2 separate regions of the Homo sapiens genome follow, and region 1 is linked to region 2. Evidence: promoter capture Hi-C in 16 types of primary human blood cells and fetal thymus (Javierre and others, 2016). All regions are on one chromosome and are shown on one strand. The core of a region is centred on a gene start or on the middle of the fragment in contact, and the rest is flanking DNA. Distances in the headings are between cores, read along the strand shown. Region 1 overlaps CEP70 (centrosomal protein 70). Region 2 holds the start of PIK3CB (phosphatidylinositol-4,5-bisphosphate 3-kinase catalytic subunit beta).

What was found. The method cuts DNA at HindIII sites, captures the fragments that hold promoters and counts their contacts. A CHiCAGO score of 5 or more calls a contact.
Region 1: a fragment that was not itself captured here is called in contact with the fragment with the promoter of PIK3CB in region 2 in 1 of 17 cell types (fetal thymus); the score reaches 5.9 in fetal thymus.

The regions. Positions count from the first base shown.
Region 1 is chr3:138,503,182-138,509,552 of GRCh38, reverse strand. CEP70 (centrosomal protein 70) reads left to right here. Exons shown (of 18, transcript NM_024491.4): 12 at 1,009-1,114; 13 at 4,088-4,258. Among named protein-coding and RNA genes, the nearest start is that of ESYT3, 72 kb to the right of the region's middle. The HindIII fragment of the contact is 1,527 bases long and covers 2,871-4,397 here.
Region 2 is chr3:138,830,551-138,836,300 of GRCh38, reverse strand. It overlaps PIK3CB (phosphatidylinositol-4,5-bisphosphate 3-kinase catalytic subunit beta), which reads left to right and starts at 1,373. Exons shown (of 24, transcript NM_006219.3): 1 at 1,373-1,606. RefSeq lists a silencer at 1,137-1,876. The HindIII fragment of the contact is 25,969 bases long and covers 1-5,750 here.

The DNA of each region.
Region 1 (6,371 bases), core at 2,385-4,884, 330 kb after region 2:
AGAAGAAAGATTACTACAGCCTGTCTTCTAGATATTTGGAGAAGGACAAGTGTTTACTACTAGGTGGATACACTTATACATAGTTGTATTTCTGGGTGAAGAGACTCTCCTTTCCCCTAGCATTCTAGTAGCCACCTGGAATAATGGTCTGTTGGATCTCCACGCCCTCTTGACTGGCCCAGGCATTGCCATTTTCTGTTCTTTGCCACTGGTAGAATACAAAGAGAGAGGGACCAAACGTCTAGCTGTTCCTGCTACAGTACCCAAACCAGTGGCCCTTCCCATGCTTCCTGCTCCCTTTATCTGTAGTCTGTGATCTTGGAGCACGTTGGATGGAAGTCGCTTCCATCCTTTGTTGTATTTCTCTCTTGTGCTGTCTTTTGTGGGTGCTGGGGGGTGGTTAGAACTTTCTTCTTCAATCTGATCTCTTCTGTCTTCAGAGATTCCTTCTAATTTGCGATTTATTGAGAGGGCCTTCTAGTTTTCCAGTGACAATATGATTTAAAAAATTTTAAACTCTGGCCGGGCACGGTGGCTCACGCCTGTAATCCCAACACTTTGGGAGGCTGAGGTGGGTGGATCACGAGGTCAGGAGATCGAGACCATCCTGGTTAACACGGTGAAACCCCGTCTCTACTAAAAATATAAAAAATTAGCCAGGCATGGTGGCGGGCGCCTGTAGTCCCAGCTACTCAGGAGGCTGAGGCAGGAGAATGGTGTGAACCCGGGAGACGGAGCTTGCAGTGAGCCGAGATTGCGCCACTGCACTCCAGCCTGGGTGATAGAGCGAGATTCTGTCTCAAAAAAAAAAAAAAATTTTTTTTAACTCTATATATGCATATATGTATGTGTTTATACATACACATACATACATGTGTGCACACACACATATAAGTAAAGTGATATAAGGCTGTTGGGAGGGTGGCTGGATCATTGACTTAGTTTATCATCTTGGTCCAGTGTCTAGGAAGTAATTTTGTATTATCTTGATTTTTTTCCCCCTTTTAGATTACAGGAGCTTATTAATCATAAGAAGGCTGAGGACACAGAGAAGAAAGATGAGCCCAGCAAATATAATCAGCAACAGGCCCTAATTGACCAGAGATACTTTCAGGTATTGAATTGATTTTTCATGACAAAAAGACTGATGTTTGTCATGAATCTTGGTTATCAGTTGTGGTGTAATAAATTATCAGTTGGTAAGGAATACTTGCACCTCATATTTATGTGTACTTATTCTGTCTTGTCTTTCCGTGACATAACTATTTGACTAAAAACATTGTAGAATTCGTCTTACTACTTAAAAGAGACTCTGGCCTAGTTCAAAGGAGGTTAGTAAAGAGCTTTATGATTTTTAAAAGTTTCTATAATCCTTTTCCCTACTTTCCCCATGTAAGCCATTTTCCCTCGTATTGTTTCTGTTGTTACCATTATTATTAAGTAAATCTATTTTCTTAGGGTCCTTGTATGGCTTTTGTTTTTGTTTAGAGACCTTAGTTCATCTGAAATTTAATTTTCTATATGGTGTGATATAGGGAATCTCACCTTCCTAGTTTTATAGATCATTTATTGAATAGCTGAGCAGTTAAACCTGGTAGTTTAGTGACTGAACTGGACTTTCACTCACATTTTATTGGGTACACATAAGATTTTTAAGTTTTAGATTATTCATTTTTTTAAAAATTAAGATATTTTATTTTTTCTAGGCTGCTATTTCTAACTTCTCCTAAAAAGTCAGAAGATCTGGCAACAAATTCCTGCATGGTTATTATCACAGCAGAATTAGGCCTTTCCCTTGTCAGATATGAGCATGTGTTCTATAGTTAGCAGTCCCTATTCATCCTTACGTCACTCATTTATACTCGTACCTGAATTCTCTGGGCATTTGTGTTTGCAGTCTCTAATACGCTACTTTTTTCTCTACTTTATTGAAATAACATTTTATCATAGATCATATTCATTTATATGCACAGATTTGTTTTTAGATTCTCTAGTCTGTTGCATTTCTCAACTATTTCCATATTTTAATTTCTATAGTTAAAAGTTTTAATAGCCTTTGAGGCAAGTATCCTATCATTAAAAAAATTTTTTTTATTGGCTATATTTTTAGCACATTTATTCTTCTGGATGAACAGTTTTTCAAATTAAAAAATAAATCTCATTGAGATGAACTAAAATTGAATTGACTTTATAGATTAATATTTGGAGAAATGACACCTTAACCTTTTTGAATCATCACATTCAGAAATATGTACTTTCATCAGGGTCATCTTTTATAGTCTTCAATAAAGTGTTGTGTATTTTTAAATTTAGCTCTTGCATATTTCTTGTTAGGAAATACCTTGTTATTTCCTAGGTATTTTATAACTTTTATTGCTATTGTAAATGGGAACCAAGCACCTTTCTGAAAACTGTTTTGTTTTAGACTTTCTTGTACCAGTATATAACTGGATTTCATTTTGTTTCTGAGACTCAATTTGAGAGGCTTTGTCCTTTAAAAGGGGAATTCAAGCCGGGTATGGTGGCTCATGCCTGTAATCTTAACACTTTGGGTGACCGAGGCAGGAGGATTGCTAGAGGGCAGGAGTTTGAGACCAGCCTGGGCAATATAGTGAGACCACATCTCTAGAAAAAAAAAAATTTAATTAGCTGGGCATGGTGGCTTGTGCCTGTAGTCCTAGCACTTGAGAGGTTGACATGGGAAGATCACTTGAGCCCAGGAATTCAACGCTGCAGTGAGCTCCGTTCACACCACTGCACTCCATCTTAGGCTGCAGAGTGAGACTCTGTCAAATAAATATATAAAACAAATATACATACATCAATTTGAAGTGAAATATTGAATTATACTAATTTGGACTTAAAAAGCTTCTAAATAAACATCTGAAGTAATAAACATCTTAAGTCATATTACCAGGAGGCCTATTAGTTATATCTTGAAGTATGACCAGGGACAAAGATTCAAGAGCAAAATGCTATCTTTATATTGTGAAACTTTTTATTAAATAGGCTGAACTTGATGGTGGTAATAGGAAATGGCTTTATTCTTCTCTCTTTAAACATGCTTTTTGAGGTCTCCCTTTTTTTCCTCGGATGATATGTAAGGTAGAACCCATCACTTATGGGGAGAGGGTTATAGTCAAATAGTATACTATCTTAATATATTAAGATACCTAAAATTCAATCCAGGCATCAATGATATTATTTTTGGAGACAGGGTCTTGCTCTGTTGCCCAGGCTGAAGTGCATTATCATAGCTCACTGCAGCCTTGAATTCCTGGGCTCAAGTGATCCTCCTGCCTCAACCTCCCAAAGTGCTGGGATTACAGGCATGAGCCACCACACTCAGCCTGGGGATTGCTGTTAATTTCCTTAAATAGTCTGATAATGTTCTTGTGAGTTTGTAGGAGAATATGCCTACTTTTAAAAGATGCATGCTTTATTATTTGAGGGTGAAGAGTTTCTTCAAATGGTTCACCTAAAAATATAGATAGTGAGCAAATATGGCAAAATACTAACAATTTTTGAACCTAGGTAGTGTTTGTAATAGTTAATTTTGTTTCAACTTTACTGCGGCATAGGATGCCCGATATTTGGTTAAACATTATTCTGGATGTGTCTGGGAAGGTGCTTCTGGATGAGATTGACATCCGAATCAGTAGACTTTAGTAAATCAGACTGCCTTTCCTAATGGGGTGGGCCTCATCCAATGATTCAAAGCCCTGAGTAGAACAAAAGGCTGAATAAGAGGGAGCTCCTCCTCCCTGACTGCTTTCAAGATGGGACACTGGTTTTTTTCTTGCCTTCAGACTCAAACTGAAACATTAGCACTTGCAGGGGTCTCAGTCTGCCTGCATTTGGACTGCAAATACCCATTACCTTTTCTGGGTCTTCGCTTACTCACTGCAGATCTTGGGACTTGTCAGTCTTCATAATTGCATGAGCCAATTCCTTATGATAATTTTCTTTGTATATTTAATGAAATATGTGTATATAATATATATAGACATAAAGCACTCCTTTAAAATATATAACTTTGTAGGCATAGGATAAATATTTTGACTATATACACTATGTTTTTTTAAAGGTGCTGTGTAGCATCAATTCAATTATCCACAATCCAAGAGCTCCAGTAATAATTTATAAACAGACCAAAGGGGGAGTCCAAAATTTTAATAAAGATCTTGTTCAAGATTGTGGATTTGAGCATCTTGTTCCTGTAATAGAAATGTGGGCAGATCAACTGACATCCTTAAAGGTAAGGGGTTGACTATGATTATATGCTTTGAACATCTATTGGACTCTATGTGCTTTATTAATAGGACTTAATTCAGGGCTAAAAATTAAATAGGGTTTAATTTTTTTGTTTGTGTGTTAACTCTAAAGCTAAAAAAGCTTATTATCTAAAACCGAAATCTTCCTACTTACATATCTATTTTAGGTACTGTCTATTTGATGTTGTCATTACTGTAAGCTTTACCTCCTCTAAGATTCTACCAAACAAGAAATTTTGGGGTTAGTTTCCTTATTGAAAATCTATAGTGGATCCACTTTGTACTTCTAGGCCCTTCCCTGTTCTACCTTCATCTGCCTCCTTTTCATATCTCCATGCTGCGATTTTCCTGGCCCTTATCCCTCTTCAGATATAATGTCTTATCCTTCATTTTATTATAATTGGGGATATTTTCTCTCTCTTCACACTTTATTTTCTGTCTCTCAGAACTGAGCTTATCTCCATTTCTGCTTATTCTCTAGAACAGATAGTAAGCTAGCAGCCAACGCTACCCTTCCCTATCCTATCTCTTCATGGAAGACCACATTTTATTTATAGAGTTATTGTGTATTTATTGCATAGCTTCAGGTTTTTTCAGTTTTTGTTAACTAGTTTGCTGAAAGGTAAATAGTTGAAATCAGTAGTATTTAACTTCTTTGCCCTTTACACTTTAGATTTATTAGTAACTAATATAATACATAGCATATGCCTGTTAATGAAAATGTGATTCAATAACAGTGTTTGCAACATAAGTCTTATTACATGAAGTACAAATGATGCAGAAGATATCTGTTAAGAATGTATAAGCTCCATGAAGACAGTGTTTTTATTTGTTCTGATATGTCCCCAAGATCCTCCTGATGAATGAGTGCTCAATTAATATTTGTTAAAAGGAATGAAGCAGAATATTATATTCCAAGACAACAAAATTGGGGGTGGTGATGTTAATTTTTTTTAAATTTCGACTTCCCTTTTTATATAGGGCTCAGACAGAGCTATACAATACATAAACATTTTGATTGAGTGACAGTGCTAGATTAATATACTTACTTTATAGACCGGAGTTCCTCCAGTCTGTATCTCAGAAGAGTGTAAAATAATTAGTAATAGTGTAAATCATGGTATTTCCTCAATCACTGCCTGTCAGAGGGTTCTCCCAGTAGGAGGAAACAGTGCTGACTCCACCTTTCTTCATCTCAGAAGGGATGGACTAGAAAAAGCCCTAGCCTTCCTAGAAGAAAAGACTAGAAGAGGAAGAAGACAAAGGGAAGAATCACACTAATGGATAGTTATTGATCGTTTATCATGCTAAGCCATTATGGGATGAACACAAGATTCAGACTAATTAGACAAAATATACTAAAAAATATGAAACAAAATGTAATCATTTATATCGTTAAAGGAAATGAGTGACATAAAAATAGATTACCGGTTGAAGTTCTGAGTGAATGATGCAGATAACTTGTGCTCTAGAGTCTGGAGGAGAAAGAGAACACTCTGATTGTAGCCCCCAAGAAGGGCTTTGCCATGGTGGTGAGTTCTTGCTATTGTATGGTTTTCTGAGGAGGAGGAGGAGGCAAGGAATTCGCTTTATAATTAGAATATTCTGAGGACACCCAAGAAGAAATTATTAAGAATTAGTTACTTCTGCCATTGGAGTAACTCATGGATTTTGAGCAGTGCTTCAGATATTAATACTACAGTTTCAGGGTCCAAATTAAGAAACTACATGAGATTCTCTGAGGCCTCATATCAAAGGTTATTTGATATGTAGCAACCTCTAAGTTTGGGACAACCATCTTCCCAGATTAGTTTTTTCCCTCAGGTTAAATTTGGCTTTAAAGAGTAAGATAGGTTTGAGGGATGAATGGATAAGCAAAATGTGGTATATACATATATTGCAATATTATTCAGCCATTAAAAGGAAAGAAATTCTGACCCTTGCAACATGGGTGAACATTATGAGGACATTATGCTAAGTGAAATAAGTCAGTCACAAGAAGATTCCACTTATATGATTCCACTTGTATGAGATACTTAGTGAAAATCATAGAGACAAAGTAGAGTGGTGATGGCTAGAGGGAGGAGGGAAATGGGA
Region 2 (5,750 bases), core at 124-2,623:
ATGCACATCACCACACTCACGTCATTTTTGTCAGTCTCGCCATATTGCCCAGGCTAGGTGTGAACTCCTGGGCTCAAGTGATCTGCCCACCTCGGCCTCCCAAAGTGTTGGTATTACAGCCTCTTCTGGAATTTATTTTTCAATGTTCTTGCTTTAAATCGAAAGTCAATTAAAACCAGGATCATTGGCCGGGCACGGTGGCTCATGTCTGTAATCCCAGCCCTTTGGGAGGCCGAGGCGGGCTGATCACCTGAGGTCGGGAGTTCGAGACCAGCCTGACCAACGTGGAGAAACCCCGTCTCTACTAAAAATACAAAATTAGCCAGGCGTGGTGGCGCATGCCTGTAATCCTCAGGAAGGCTGAGGCAGGAGAATCGCTTGACCGGGGGACGCAGAGTTGCGGTGAGCCAAGATCGCGCCATTGCACTCCAGCCTGGGCAACAGTAGCGAAACTCTCATTCAAAATAAGTAAATAAATAAAAAATAAAAAAACTAGGATCATTTCTCAAATAAACTATTGGTTTGTCACTTAATTGATTTGTCACGTTTGCTTTTTATTATGTTGTACTTCTAGATTTTATCCCTGACTACTCAACTATTTGTCCAGGGTAATATAGGAGCATTACGTTAGAATATACTAGCTTTGGAGTGAGTTAAAATGTTGGTTTTCAGTAAGTAAAATTTAAGTGTCCCACTAGAAAGAGGACTGTGATTTTTCGCGGTTGGGGTCAAAGGTAACAGGAAACAAGGTAGGCAAAAAGGGGTAAAGTTTAAGGCTCTGCAGACAAATGTTAGGTGTTGTTACTGCAAAATTGAACAAAGAACAAGAATCTTGGGCTTGAAAGCCTGGACTTTTCCCTAGAAACAACCATTCACAGTGTAGGGACTGAAGGGCCAGCTGTGAGGCAGCCGAGCTAGCGCCCTATCCTCACAAAGGGAGTGAAAGACGGAGACGGGTATCGGGAAAAAAATAAGTGCTGCGTCCAAGAATTTAGGAGTCAGTCCATGTCGCAGAACAGGGAGAAGGGCTGGGAAGAAAAGGCCAGCAAGGAACCTAGGAAGAGCGGAATCTCTCGGGAGGAGGTTATGGAGGCCGCAGCGGGTGATGGGTCTCTCCTGAAGGCGACTTGCCGGGGATTCCCTATTCCGCAGTCCTCTGGGAGTCGCAAAGAGAGTTAGGAAAGGCCGTGCAGCAGCGTCGCAGCCGGGCTGGCAACGGTAGAGGAATCGGCAGTGAGGCCTCTCCCCACACCCTGCCAGCCCAACTGCCGCCGCCGCCGCCGCCGCCACCGCGGGGCCCGGGATTGGCCCGAGGGCGGCGCAGGGCGGGGCGGGGGCTGCTGGGATGCAGGCCTGAGAGGCTGGCGCGCGCGCACACGGGCGCGGGTTCGGCGGCGGCGCGCGCGTGCTCTGTCGGCCTGTGCGGCGCTGCGGCGGAGCGGGCCATGGCAGTGGGGAGGGGGCGAGTGTAGTGCTGCGCGGGGCAGGCGGGAGGTGATCGAGAGAGGCAGGGATGGGGGCGCCGGAGTGGAGCGGTTGCGGCGGCCTGGGCTGCTGACTGCGCACTTGGAATAGTAGCAGGCGGCGGCGGCGGAACGCCAGGCAGGTGAGTGCGGCGGCCGGGACCCGGATGCGGCGCGGCTGAGGGGCGGCTGGGTCGCGGCGCCGGCTGCGGTGCCCCCGGGCGTGCTGGCGGTGCGTTCTAGCTTGCCGCTACCTGCGGCGCTGGCGACTCTTGTGGTTGCACCGCGCTTCCTGCCAGCTTGGAGGATAACCGCCTACCGGCCGGTGGGGGCGTCTGGCTTGGTTGCGGCCCGCCCTGGGCTCTCCAAGGTGAGTGGCGCCCCCCGGCCCCTGGGCGGCAGAGACGCTGCCGGGCGTCCCGGGTCACTGTCGCTTTGGGTCCCGTTCCTGAGGGGCGTTTCTGTGGAGAGACGGCGTACTCGCGCCCCGCGTCTATGCGGACACCTCCGGAACTTCCCGACCCTCAGGTGCCTTTTTGCGCAGAAGTGTATTTCAGAGGCGTGGACCCAGGGTTATTAGGTTATGGACATGTTTTCGAATCCCAACGCCGCTGCTGACCAGTCCTGGGGCCTTGGGCCAAAATATCCTGATGTGTTAAATGGAAATAATAATACATACACCATAAGGTTGTTGTGAGGTTAGGCATAACTGAACAAGTGCTAAGTAAATGATACCCCTGCTGCAGCATCTCGTGTTAGCTATTGCTAATTCCTGGCTGCTGGCGTGCGTTTGGGGGCACATTTATTTCCGATCTGCTCTGGTGTTGCAGTAACCGATACTGGAGTTGCTTAATATTGGAGCCTGTTAACCTCGCAGTGGCCAAAATAGAATCCTATAGTCCCTTACTAGAATCCTGCAGTCTCTTCCCGCAGGGCTGAATTGGAACCCTGTCTCAGGTACTGAGTGGGAATTACTGCTGAAATGAAACCGAGCAAATTCGGGATTCGCTTAGGATGAAAGATGGTGGGACGTAAACTTGAAGTGCTTTGCTGTTTCATCTCAAGTGACACTTGAACTCTGCCACTTGTTACAGAGTTATAAACACACGAAGAGTATGGAAACAGACTCTTTTTTCTGCATTGCTACATCCAAAGGGAGTGACAAGTGCTTTTGTAAACATCATTGTGGGCAGTGTGACTGTCTGGTGAAGTCATGATAATTAAATGAGTACTTATTTTGAAGCACTGAATGGAAGTTTGGAGATATGATTCGTAATAAAATTGTCTCCAACGAGTCAGAGGTCTCAGCAGTTCATTAATCATTTGGGGATTTTTATGCTACATTGTAAGATTTTATGGTAAAAGCAGAACTGTTTAAGTCATAATAATGTAGCACAGGAAAGGGTGGTCAGATAAGGATCTTAACCCAGTTTCAGAATGCAGGTATGGAAGAAAGTAAAGTCTTTTTTCTGACCAGGTGCGTTGGCTCACGCCTGTAATCCCAGCACTTTGGGAGGCCGAGGCGGGCGGATCAATTGATTCCAGGAGTTCGACACCAGCCCAAGCAACATGGTGAAACCCCGTCTCTACCAAAAACACAAAAATTAGCAGGGCGTGGTGGCGGGCGCTTGTAATCCCAGCTACTTGGGAGGCTGAGGCAGGAGAATCCCTTGAACCCGGGAGGCGGAGGTTGCAGTGAGCCGAGATGGCACCACTGGACTCCAGCCTGGGCAACAGAGGGATACCCTGTCTCAAAAAGAAAAAAAAAAAATCTTTTTGAGACCGAATCTTGCTTCTTTTTTAAAAAAAAATTATTGTTGTTTTTTGAGGCAGGGTCTCGGTCTGTCGCCCAGGCTGGAGTGCAATGTCGCCATCTTGGCTCACTGCAACCTCCGCCTCCTGGGTTCAAGCGATCCTCCTGCCTCAGGCTCCCTAGTGGCTGAGACTACAGGGGCGTGCCACCACGCCTGGCCAATCTTTCAATTTTGTTTTTTTTTTTTTTTTTTTGAGACGGAGTTTCGCTTTTGTTGTCCAGGCTGGAGTGCAATGACGCGATCTCCAGCTCACCGCAACCTCCGCCTCCCGGGTTCAAGCGATTCTCCTGCCATAGCCTCCCGAGTAGTTGGGATTACAGGCATGTGCCACCACACGCGGCTAATTTTGTACTTTTTTTGGTAGAGACGGGGTTTCTCCATGTTGGTCAGGGTGGTCTCGGACTCCCAACCTCAGGTATCCGCCCGCCTCGGCCTCCCAAACTGCTGGGATTACAGGAGGAAGCCACCGCGCCCGGCCCAATCTTTGTATTTTTGGTAGAGAGGTGGTTTTGCCATGTTGGCCAGGCTGGTCTTGATCTCCTGGGCTCAAATGATCCGCCAGCCTGGGCCTCCCAAAATGCTGGGATTACAGGCATGAACCACCGCGACCGGCCGAAAGTAAAAATCTTAAAGGTTTAAACTGGAATTGTATTCACTAAAGCCAAAATGACTTAAGAAGCAAAAATCTAATTTACACCCCTGATTCACACCCTGAGTCCACCACCTTCGGAGTGTTTTTTAGAAGTGTTGAAAATCAAGTCGGGTTTTGATTTGTCATTTTGCACCTCTTGCCTATCTTTCTTGGTGTTCTTAAAGACTCATCCATAAAGGCTTTTGCTTCAACTTGCTTTGTGAATGTCAGCCAACTATATGGAAAAAAGTGAAAAATGAACACTGTAGTCTAAATTATGTTCTTTCTTGAGGTTTTCCCAGTTGTCTAGCTTAGACTGTTGAACTCAACAGTAGAACTACTGCTAGCCACTGTGAAAAGGCTGGGAGTCAGAAGTCACCTCTTGGTTTTAGGCCTCAACCTGGGTAAAAACAGCTGGGGCTATGGGGATGTTACCCAGTCTTATGGGCCTCTGTTTTGTTTGTTTGTTTGTTTTGAGATGGAGTCTCTCTCTGTCGCCAGGCTGGAGTGCAATGGCACGATCTCTGCTCACTGTGACCTCCCGGGTTCAAGCGATTCTCCTGCCTCAGCCTCCAAATTAGTTGGGACTACAGGTGCACACCACCATGCCCCGCTAATTTTTGTATTTTTAGTAAACATGGGGTTTCACCATATTGGCCAGGATGGTCTCAGTCTTTTGACCTCGTGTTCCTCCCGCCTTGGCCTCCCAAAGTGCTGGGATTACAGGCGTCAGCCACTGTGCCTGGCCCCAATAAATAAATTATTTATTTTTATTTTTTATTTTGTTTTTATTTATTTACTTATTTAGAGACTGAGTTTTGCCCTTGTTGCCCAGGCTGGAGTGCAATGTGCAATCTTGGCTCACTGCAACCTCCGCCTCCCCGGTTCAAACAATTCTTCTGCCTCAGCCTCCCAAGTAGCTGGGATTACAGGCACCCGCCACCACGCCCAGCTAATTTTTTGTATTTTTAGGGGTTTCTCCATGTTGGCCAGGCTGGTCTTGAACTCCTGACCTCAGGTGATCTGGCCGCCTCGGCCTCCCAAAGTGCTGGGATTACAGGCGTGAGCCACTGCGCCTAGCACTATTTTTAATTTTAATTTAATTTAATTTTATTTTATTTTATTTTATTTATTTGAGACGGAGTCTCACTCTGTTGCCCAGCCTGGAGTTCACACCTCCTGGGTTCACGCCGTTCTCCTGTCTCAGCCTCCCCAGTAGCTGGGACCATAGGTGCCCGCCACCACGCCTGGCTAATTTTTTGTATTTTTTTTTTAGTAGAGACGGGGTTTCACCGTGTTAGTCAGGGCGGTCTTGATCTCCTGACCTCGTGATCCGCCCGCCTTGGCCTCCCAAAGTGCTGGGACTCCAGGCGGGAGCCACCGCGCCTTGCCCCCAATAAATAAATAAAATACTTAACTGAGGAAAGTGAGTTCCTGCTTTATTATTATTATTATTATTATTATTATTATTATTATTATTATTATTATTTTGAGACGGAGTTTCGCTCTGTTGCCCAGGCTAGAGTGCAGTGGTGCGATCTCGGCTTACCGCAAGCTCCGCCTCCCGGGTTCACGCCATTCTCCTGCCTCAGCCTCCCAAGTAGCTGGGACTACAGGCGCCAGCCAACACGCCCGGCTAATTTTTTTGTGTGTTTTTAGTAGAGACAGGGTTTCACCGTGTTCACCAGGATGGTCTCGATCTCCTGACCTCGTGATCCGCCCATCTCGGCCTCCCAAAGTGCTGGGATTACAGGCGTCATCCACTCCGGCCCCTGCTTTATTATTTGTGTATTCTCTTGGACTTGTTCCTTTTGATTTTTTGTTTTGTTTTGTTTTGTTTGA